Linked DNA regions of Homo sapiens: all the other regions are linked to region 3. The links are contacts of gene promoters, found by promoter capture Hi-C in human tissues and cell types (Jung and others, 2019). All regions are on one chromosome and are shown on one strand. Each heading gives the region's core, a stretch centred on a gene start or on the middle of the fragment in contact. The rest is flanking DNA. Distances are from core to core; before and after follow the strand shown.

The links. Contacts are between HindIII fragments. The study calls those that stand out against the background at their distance.
Region 1: a fragment that was not itself captured here is called in contact with the fragment with the promoter of NSUN2 in region 3 in 1 of the 25 tissues and cell types used here (dorsolateral prefrontal cortex).
Region 2: a fragment that was not itself captured here is called in contact with the fragment with the promoter of NSUN2 in region 3 in 1 of the 25 tissues and cell types used here (dorsolateral prefrontal cortex).

What each region holds. Positions count from the first base shown.
Region 1 is chr5:5,616,115-5,618,814 of GRCh38, forward strand. No RefSeq gene overlaps it. Among named protein-coding and RNA genes, the nearest start is that of ICE1, 190 kb to the left of the region's middle. The HindIII fragment of the contact is 3,939 bases long and covers 1-2,700 here.
Region 2 is chr5:7,735,577-7,738,331 of GRCh38, forward strand. All of the region lies in intron 14 of ADCY2 (adenylate cyclase 2), which reads left to right. Among named protein-coding and RNA genes, the nearest start is that of CFAP90, 110 kb to the right of the region's middle. The HindIII fragment of the contact is 7,857 bases long and covers 1-2,755 here.
Region 3 is chr5:6,631,794-6,634,550 of GRCh38, forward strand. NSUN2 (NOP2/Sun RNA methyltransferase 2) reads right to left here and starts at 1,251. Exons shown (of 19, transcript NM_017755.6): 1 at 1,091-1,251; 2 at 806-963; 3 at 80-184. The coding sequence starts at 1,186. It overlaps SRD5A1 (steroid 5 alpha-reductase 1), which reads left to right and starts at 1,647. Exons shown (of 5, transcript NM_001047.4): 1 at 1,647-2,076. The coding sequence starts at 1,784. RefSeq lists enhancers at 1,347-1,858, 1,859-2,370 and a silencer at 1,494-1,883. The HindIII fragment of the contact is 6,073 bases long and covers 1-2,757 here.

The sequences.
Region 1 (2,700 bases), core at 181-2,680, 1.0 Mb before region 3:
TTTTAGATAATTGAAATTTGTCAAAAGTTTCCAAAGCTGAGGTTTTCTTTTCCTGCCTCACTGAATATTTGGATTTAGAGTTTTTCAGTATTATTCAGAGGACGTCAAAACATTCAATCTTTTCTCAGGACACTCACTGATTTACAAATATAGTGATCACAGGCACTTACCTTTGTTTTGAAAAATTATTATTGACATATTTTTACTTAAAGTGCATACATTTAATCTATGCAGCTTAACCTTAATTAATTTTTAAAGGTAACATATCCATATAAACACAACTTAAAGATTTAGTGTATTTTTGAGTTCCTTCCCAGGATATGCCCCTTGTGGTGAAAACTCCCATGATGGCTTTCCGCTATTTGACCTCAAACCCCACATGGTGGGCAGAATAATGTCCCCAAGGATGTCCATGTCCTAATCTCTGGAACCTGTGAATATGTTATGTTAAGTGGAAAGAGGAATTAAGGTAGCAGATGAAATTGCTAATCAGCTGACTGTAAGAGGGAGATTATCCAGGATTATCTGCGGGGACCAGTGTAATCACAAAGGTCTTTAAAGACGGAAGACGGAGGGAGAGTCAGAGTTGCAGTAATACCCTATGAAAAAGACTCGACTGGCTGCGACTGGCTTTGAAGATAAGAAGAATGCCGGGAGCCAGGAAGTACAGGCAGTGTCTAAAAGCTAGAAAAATAAGAAAATGCATTCTCTTCCAAAGCCTCCAGAAAGGAAGGCAGCCCTGACATCACCTTGATTTTTAGCCAGGAATGCCCATTTTGGACTTTTGACCTCTGGAACTGTAAAAGAATAAATTTGTTTTGTTTCAAGCCATTAAATTTGTGAAAATTTATTACACCAAAAATAGAAAAGCAGAAAACCAGTACACCTCATTTATTAAATTGATCTACTTTTGCTTTCTTGTTGAGGTATGACTTAAATCAAATTATACAAGTCATAAGCATACATTTGATGAGACCTGGCAAAGATAGAGACACCTGTGTAACCCACAGCCCAATCAGACAGAGTATTTCCCTCTTCTCAGAAAGTTCCCTGTGTTAGTCTCTAGCTAGTCCTGCCTCCACCTCCAGAGACAGCTGCTGTTCTGATTTCTATCACCATAAATTAGTTTTGCCTGTTATTGAACTTCTTACAAATGAAATAATAAATCATAAGTATGTATTCTTTGATGTCTGGCTTTGTTTGCTTAGCATAATGTTCCATCCAGTCTCCTGTTGGTGGACATTGGAGGGGTTCCAGTTTTTTGGCTATAATGAATAAAACTGATACAAATATTATTTTACAAGTCATTTCTGGTTGTATCCTTTGATTTTTTTCAGATATGTGCCTCAGAATGAGGTTGCTAAGTTGATGGTGAAAGTATACTTAACCTTTTGAGAAACAGCCAATCACTTTTTCAAAGTGATTGTCCTATATTTTGCATTCCCACCAGCAATGTATGAGAGATCCAGTTGCTCCAAATTCTTGATGACACTTGATGTTGCCAGTCATGTTAATGGCAGCCATTGCAGTGGGTGTAAAGTGATATTTCATTGTGATTCTAACACATCTTCCTGCTAACCCATGATTGCTGAGCTCCTTTCTATGGTTTATTGGCCAGCACATATTTTCTGTTGTGAGTTTTCCTTCAAATCTTTTGCCTCTTTTTAAGATTAGATTGTTTTTACTATTTGTTTTTTTTGGATTTTCATCCCTGGATACATATTCTTTGTCAGATATACATATTGTGAATATTTTCCCCTGCCTTCTCTTGCCTTCTTGTTTTCTTAGCTATGTCTTCTGAAGAGCGTGAGTTTATAATTTTGCTAAAGTTCAATTTATCATTTTGCTTTTTTTTTTTTTGGTTAGTGCTTTATTTAGTGTCCTAAGAGTTATGTTGAAGATGAAAGTGCATATTTTGTTCTAGAAGCTTTATGGTTTCAGCTTCCATTCAAGTCTACAAGCTGTCTTAACTTTTTTATAGAGTATAATGTAGAGGTTAAGGTTTGTTTTTATCTCCATGAATATCTAATTGTCCCAGCACTGTTTGTTGTATCAATACCTTTTTGCATTTAACATCATTTTCAGCCAAAAACTGTGGTTTAGTTATTCCATGCCTGGGCATATGTTAAAAATTTGTACATAAAATAATAAAGTTTCTATTTTGACTAGTGGAATACCTCAGCTGGTTTGAATATAACCAAGAATTATGGAAGTACCATAGCCAATTCCAAGTAAGATTCCGATTCATAGATTTTTAATTCAGCAAGAATATTGCTTTTGCCATGATATTTTGTTCCACCGAAATTTGTATTCACATCATTACACAAAACAAATAATTCTATATTCCATGTGGAATTTTTAGCTGAATATACAATTAACGATAGGGAAATTAACAAAACTGTTTCTCCACCTTCATTAAAATAAGCTTCCAAATGCTTTTCTTTGGCTCCATTAATTACATAAAGTATTCAACAATTATAATGATCTGGTTTTCTATTTGAAGCAACCAATGGTATTGATCTGCATCATCTGTTTGCAAAGATTTTCTGTTATGAAGCCATTTATTAATAGCTATTTCTTCACTTTTTGTACATGCACAAGAAACCTTGAAATTTAAAATAGGCCACTATAATTTAGAAAATAGTTATTTCGGCCGGATGCAGTGGCTCATGCCTGTAATCCCAGCACTTTAGGAGGCCG
Region 2 (2,755 bases), core at 177-2,676, 1.1 Mb after region 3:
ATGATAATGTGTTTTTTCTTCTATTCTATTAATGTGACCTATTAATAGGTTGACTGATATTCAGATATTAAAGCAACCTTACATTTCTTGGGTAAACCCCACTTGGTATTGATATACAAACCTTTTTACTTGTGGCTGGATTCAATTGACTAATATTTTGTTAAGGATTTTTGTATCCACATTCATAAGAGATACTGATTTCTACTTTTTTTTGTGATGTCTTTGGTATTGGTGTCAGGGTGATACTGGCTTCAGAACGAGTTAAGAACTGTTCCCTTCCCTTCCATTTTATGGAATAGTTTGTAAAAAATGGATATTAATTCTTCTTTCAAAGTTTTGGGCCAGGCATGCTAGCTCACACCTGTAATCCCAGCACTTTGAGAGGCAGAGGCAGGTGGATTGCTTGAGCTCAAGAGTTTGAGATCAGCCTGGACAACATGGCAAAACCCCTGGGCAAAGGGGCAAAACCCCCTCTCTACCAAAAATACAAAAATTGGCCATACATGGCAGCACAGGCCTATTGGTCCCAGCTACTTGGTAGGCTGAGGCAGGAGGATGGCTGTAGCCCGGGAAGTAGAGGCTGCAGTTAGCTGTGATTGCACCACTGCACTCTTGCTTGGGTGACAGAGCAAGACTCTGTCTCAAAAAAAAATTAAAAATGAAATGAAAGTTTGGGAAAATTTATCAGTGAAGCCATCTGCACATGAATTTTTCTTTGTAAGTAGATTTTTTTAATTACTAAGTTAATCTCTTTACTTTTTATAGGTAAGCCTATTTATATTTTTCATTTCTTCTTTAGTCAGTTTTGTGTGTCACAACATACTCTTAAGAATGATCATCCCTGCTTAAATGGGCATGTCATATGTTACAGCAAATCAAAAACAGATAGTCAGCTCTATTAGTAACACTCTATTCCTTTATCAGCTCTTAATAGATTTTGACATTTGAGGAAGGAGTAAGCAGTGGTCATCAGATACATTCACAAAAAAATGTTAACAACTCTTCTGGGATGCTCTTCACTGTGTCCAGCATATTATTATAAAATAGGAAGAGTCACATTTTAATACCCTTATTGTTTTTTAGGTCTATTTGACCTGACTTCAGAATGTCTCTGTCAACTCTCTTCATGGTGGAATAATTATTCAAAAAAAAAGAAACATTGAAATGCATTTTAGGAAACAAAGGCCTATATAATTCATTGTAGTACAAGAATCCATTATTTAAACTCTGATTCACAAAATAAACCTTATGATTTGTTAGTAGATTAACACATAATTGTCTCTAAATCAGTTGATATGTGTTTAATTGAAGGCCAATATAATTCCATAATCCCTTGTTCCATTTATAAAAAAAATTAGAGTATGGCATAACCCAAGGAATATATACATATTTGCTCAATACTTCTAATGATAAATACTTCAAGTAAAAACTTTTTTTTTGCTATTTTCAAAAGAAAAAGGAAGGAATTTAGGGAAGTCACTGTTACAGTTCTTCCCTAGGTTTCTACCTAACTATTAATGATATTATAGTGCCCAGAGAAAGCTTTATCTAGTTAATGGATTAGGCTCCAATAAAGAAAACAAATTGTCTTAGGTATTTCCGAAAGGGAATTTAATATAAAGAAGTATTTACAGAATGAGAGAAAAGCTGATAAACCAAATAGGGGATAGTATACTAGCCATGATATTAGCAACAGAAGAAACCTCCTACCACCTCTAGACTTGTAAGGAAACAGGATAGAGGTGTTGTTAGCAGAAACCCAGGCTCCTGGGCTTTCTTGCAGATGCTAGAACCATGCAAAGCTAGAGCTAGACGAAGGTAAGGTGTTGTCTGACAAGGATCTGGAATTTTAGAAAAGGCAGGAGTTGCAGGCCATTCAGAAAATGGCTGCTAAGTAGAGAGTAAAAGAAATACCCAATCTCTTTCTTTCCATTGCCTTCCAGTCTCCCACCAGTTCTCATCGGCCAAACTAGCTAGAGACATTTGACAAAGAGTCTGTGAAATGAAGTCTCTAAGAGATGGATAGAAATATACTTGAAAGCAAACAAGAAATTACCAACACACTTAGTGACAAATTTTCCTAAATTTGTTAAAATCCATCACTCTCCAAAGGCAAGAATCTCTATGAACATCAAGCAGGATAAATATGAAGGAAACCACATGTGGCATATTATAGTCACACTTCTGGAAACCAGAAAAAAGAAAAACATTAAATGCACCCACAAAAAAAGACATTACATACAAGGGATCAATGACAGAATAAATGGCTGCCTTCTTATCAGAAATGATGGAAAGCAAAAGACACTTGAACATCTTTAAACCACTGATAGGAACATGATGAACCCTGAATTAAACATTCAACTCAAATATTCCTTTTCAAAGTCGAGATGAAATACATTCTGCAAGTAAAAAAAGAGGGAATTCATCACCAGCAAACCTACAAGATATGCTAATGGAAGTTCCTCAAGCTAAAGTGAAATTATGTCAGAAGGAAAAAGGAATCTAAGGAAGGAATGGAAAGTATTGGACATGCTTACTTTATGAGAGAGTATAAAAGACAATGTATTTATTTTTCATGTCTCTAAAAGACAACAGGTGATCTGATGCAAAAACAATGACATGTGACATATACTGAGAATTCTTATGAGAATGGGATTAAATTGTTGTGTCATGTATTTTTTGAAGTGGCACAATATTAATGCCAAATAACTAATGATAAGTTAGGACAGCGTGTATTAAGCCTTGAGCAATCACT
Region 3 (2,757 bases), core at 1-2,500:
CAGTACCAAGAAATATAATTCAAGTGATAGAGATTAATATCCCAAATAAATATTCGGCATGAAGCACTGTGGTACCTACCAACTCAGTGGCTGTGGAACTTCAACTTTCTGACCGTCCACCTCCAGGTCCTCCAATTCCTTAAAATATTTGTTCTTTAAGCAATGGAGAATCTCTTTTGCGTGGCTATTGAAAAATAAGGAAGTTTCAAACTGATCTAAAAAACTAAGTTAATACATTGTATCTTCTTAAATTTAAGACTGCAAGTGTTTTAAAACTAAAACCAACTTTTGCATGGAGAGTAAACATTCTTTAGTCACTACTTTTACACTGTATGCCTTCAAAATTTAAGCAATCCACACTGTTTGAGCCCTAAGAGCAACACTGCATTCCTTCTCTCCTAAGCATATCCTACCGTTAAGTTTTACTTGCGACTCATTTAGAAAGATGTAACTACAAAGATGGAGGGGGGGCGCGGAGGAGGGGAGAACCAAGGGGTTTTATGCATTCTCTATAAATTCTCTTACGTTCCAAAAGGTAAGACCCTCAGCTTCCCTCCTGGAAGATTCCCCAGGAGCCGAATCTTCCTCAGATCTCATTTTCATTTCGTCTTCTAACCTTGCGCCTGCAATACCTCCGTGACCATTTCATTGGACCCTGTGCTCCCCACCTCAATGCTTCCTGAATCCAAACCGCTGAAACGCCACGGTTCTCTGGCACTGTAACACTTGTCGAAGAAAACACCGTCGCCTTTAACCTCCAGCATCCTGGCCCCAACTCCCAAAAAATCAGGCACTGCCTCCCTACCTTTTGTAACCAGTAATTCTTAAAGTGGCCGGGAGCGGCTCCCTGAGAGCGTCCATGAACTGGCCCCACTCGCCCTCGGGCACGATCTTGAGCTCCTGGTAGTAGTGCTCGAACAGCTTGTTCTCCTTGACGATCTCGGGGTAGCCTCCTTCCCAGCCCTGAGGAAGGAAAGAGACGTCTACCCCGAGGCCCAAGGAGCCGCCCCCTCGCCGCCGCCTCGCAGGCCTCGGGGTCCGGGAAGCCCAGGAGGAGCCCCTGGCCCGCCCGCCGGGTCCCGGCTCCTACCGCCTCGCCGCGCTTTCCACCACCCTCGGCGCCATCCTCCGCGTCCTCCGGCCGCTGCTGTTGCTGGAGCCGCCGACCCCGCGACCGCCGCCCCATAGCCCACGCGGCCGCGCACGCAGCACGCAGAAACCGGCCCGCCACGGCCAGAACTCTAGCCCTACACCTCCCGGGACTTCCGGCCGGAAACCAAGGCCCCACGTGTCCGGGCCTGGTCCTTTCGGGGACCTTTGGGGACCGTCCAGGAATAAGCCCAAAGCGCACAACCCGTCTTTCAGAAAAGCGGCGTGACAGGGAAAACAGCGAACAGCTCTAAGGGGAAAAAAATGCTCCAGGAAGCAGCCACAAAGGCGTCTCCGCGCGAAGCGCCCAGGTTTCCCACGCGGGCTCAAGGAGCTCCGCGGACAGCCTGAAGCCGCGCGTGCGCAGAGCGGCGCGGGGTTACTGCGGCCCCGGCGTGGGTGGGGCGCTTGCAGGTCCCTCCCCGCGCAAGTGCTCGCCCCGCCCCCGGGGCCGCACCCACAGCCCCGGCTACCCCGGAGAAGCCTGACTTGAGAACCCTTTCTGCAGAGTCCCGGCAGTGCGGGACTCCGGTAGCCGCCCCTCCGGTAGCCGCCCCTCCTGCCCCCGCGCCGCCGCCCTATATGTTGCCCGCCGCGGCCTCTGGGGCATGGAGCACGCTGCCCAGCCCTGGCGATGGCAACGGCGACGGGGGTGGCGGAGGAGCGCCTGCTGGCCGCGCTCGCCTACCTGCAGTGCGCCGTGGGCTGCGCGGTCTTCGCGCGCAATCGTCAGACGAACTCAGTGTACGGCCGCCACGCGCTGCCCAGCCACAGGCTCCGAGTGCCGGCGCGGGCCGCCTGGGTGGTGCAGGAGCTGCCCTCGCTGGCCCTGCCGCTCTACCAGTACGCCAGCGAGTCCGCCCCGCGTCTCCGCAGCGCGCCCAACTGCATCCTCCTGGCCATGTTCCTCGTCCACTACGGGCATCGGTAACGTCCCCGGCCCCCGGCCCCCTACCCTACTCCCGGCCCGGCGTCCTCTCCGACCCTCCCCTCACTGCCCGGTGCCCTCTCCCCGAAGCCTCCCCCACCCAGATGCCCTCTCCCTGCCAGATCCCCCGGGGCGTCCCCCATCTGCACGGGTGCCCTTCCCCGAGTCCCCCGGCCCCGGGAGTTTGGAAACCAGAAGGGATTCGTCTGGAAAGGGCGGGAAACAAAGGACTGGAAGGGAGTGATGGAAAAAAACATGATGAAACTGATCTGGAAAGAGCCACTCAGTGGTCCTAGGTTTGGTTTCCTTAGCCGGGCGCGGTGGCGCCTGTCTGTGATCCCAGTTACTCGGGAGTCTGAGATGGAAGAATCGCTTGAACCCGAGAGGCGGAGGTTACAGTGAGCCGAGATCTCGCCACTGCCCTCCAGCCTGGGTGACAGAGCGAGACTCTGTCTCAAAATTAAATATATAAAAATAAAGAGTTAAAAAGTAAAAATGTAAAATAAAAATGAAGACTAGATTTTGTTCCCTTAGATCACGACTGTGGGGGCGGGGGGGAGGGGGTTGGCCTAGAGTCTAATGCTGATGGTCGGTCTTGAGGGCCACTGGTTTCTACTCCTTTCTGCCGGTTCCCCTTTTGGTATCTTTGGTGATGGTGGAGCTGTTTTCTCCCAGCCAAG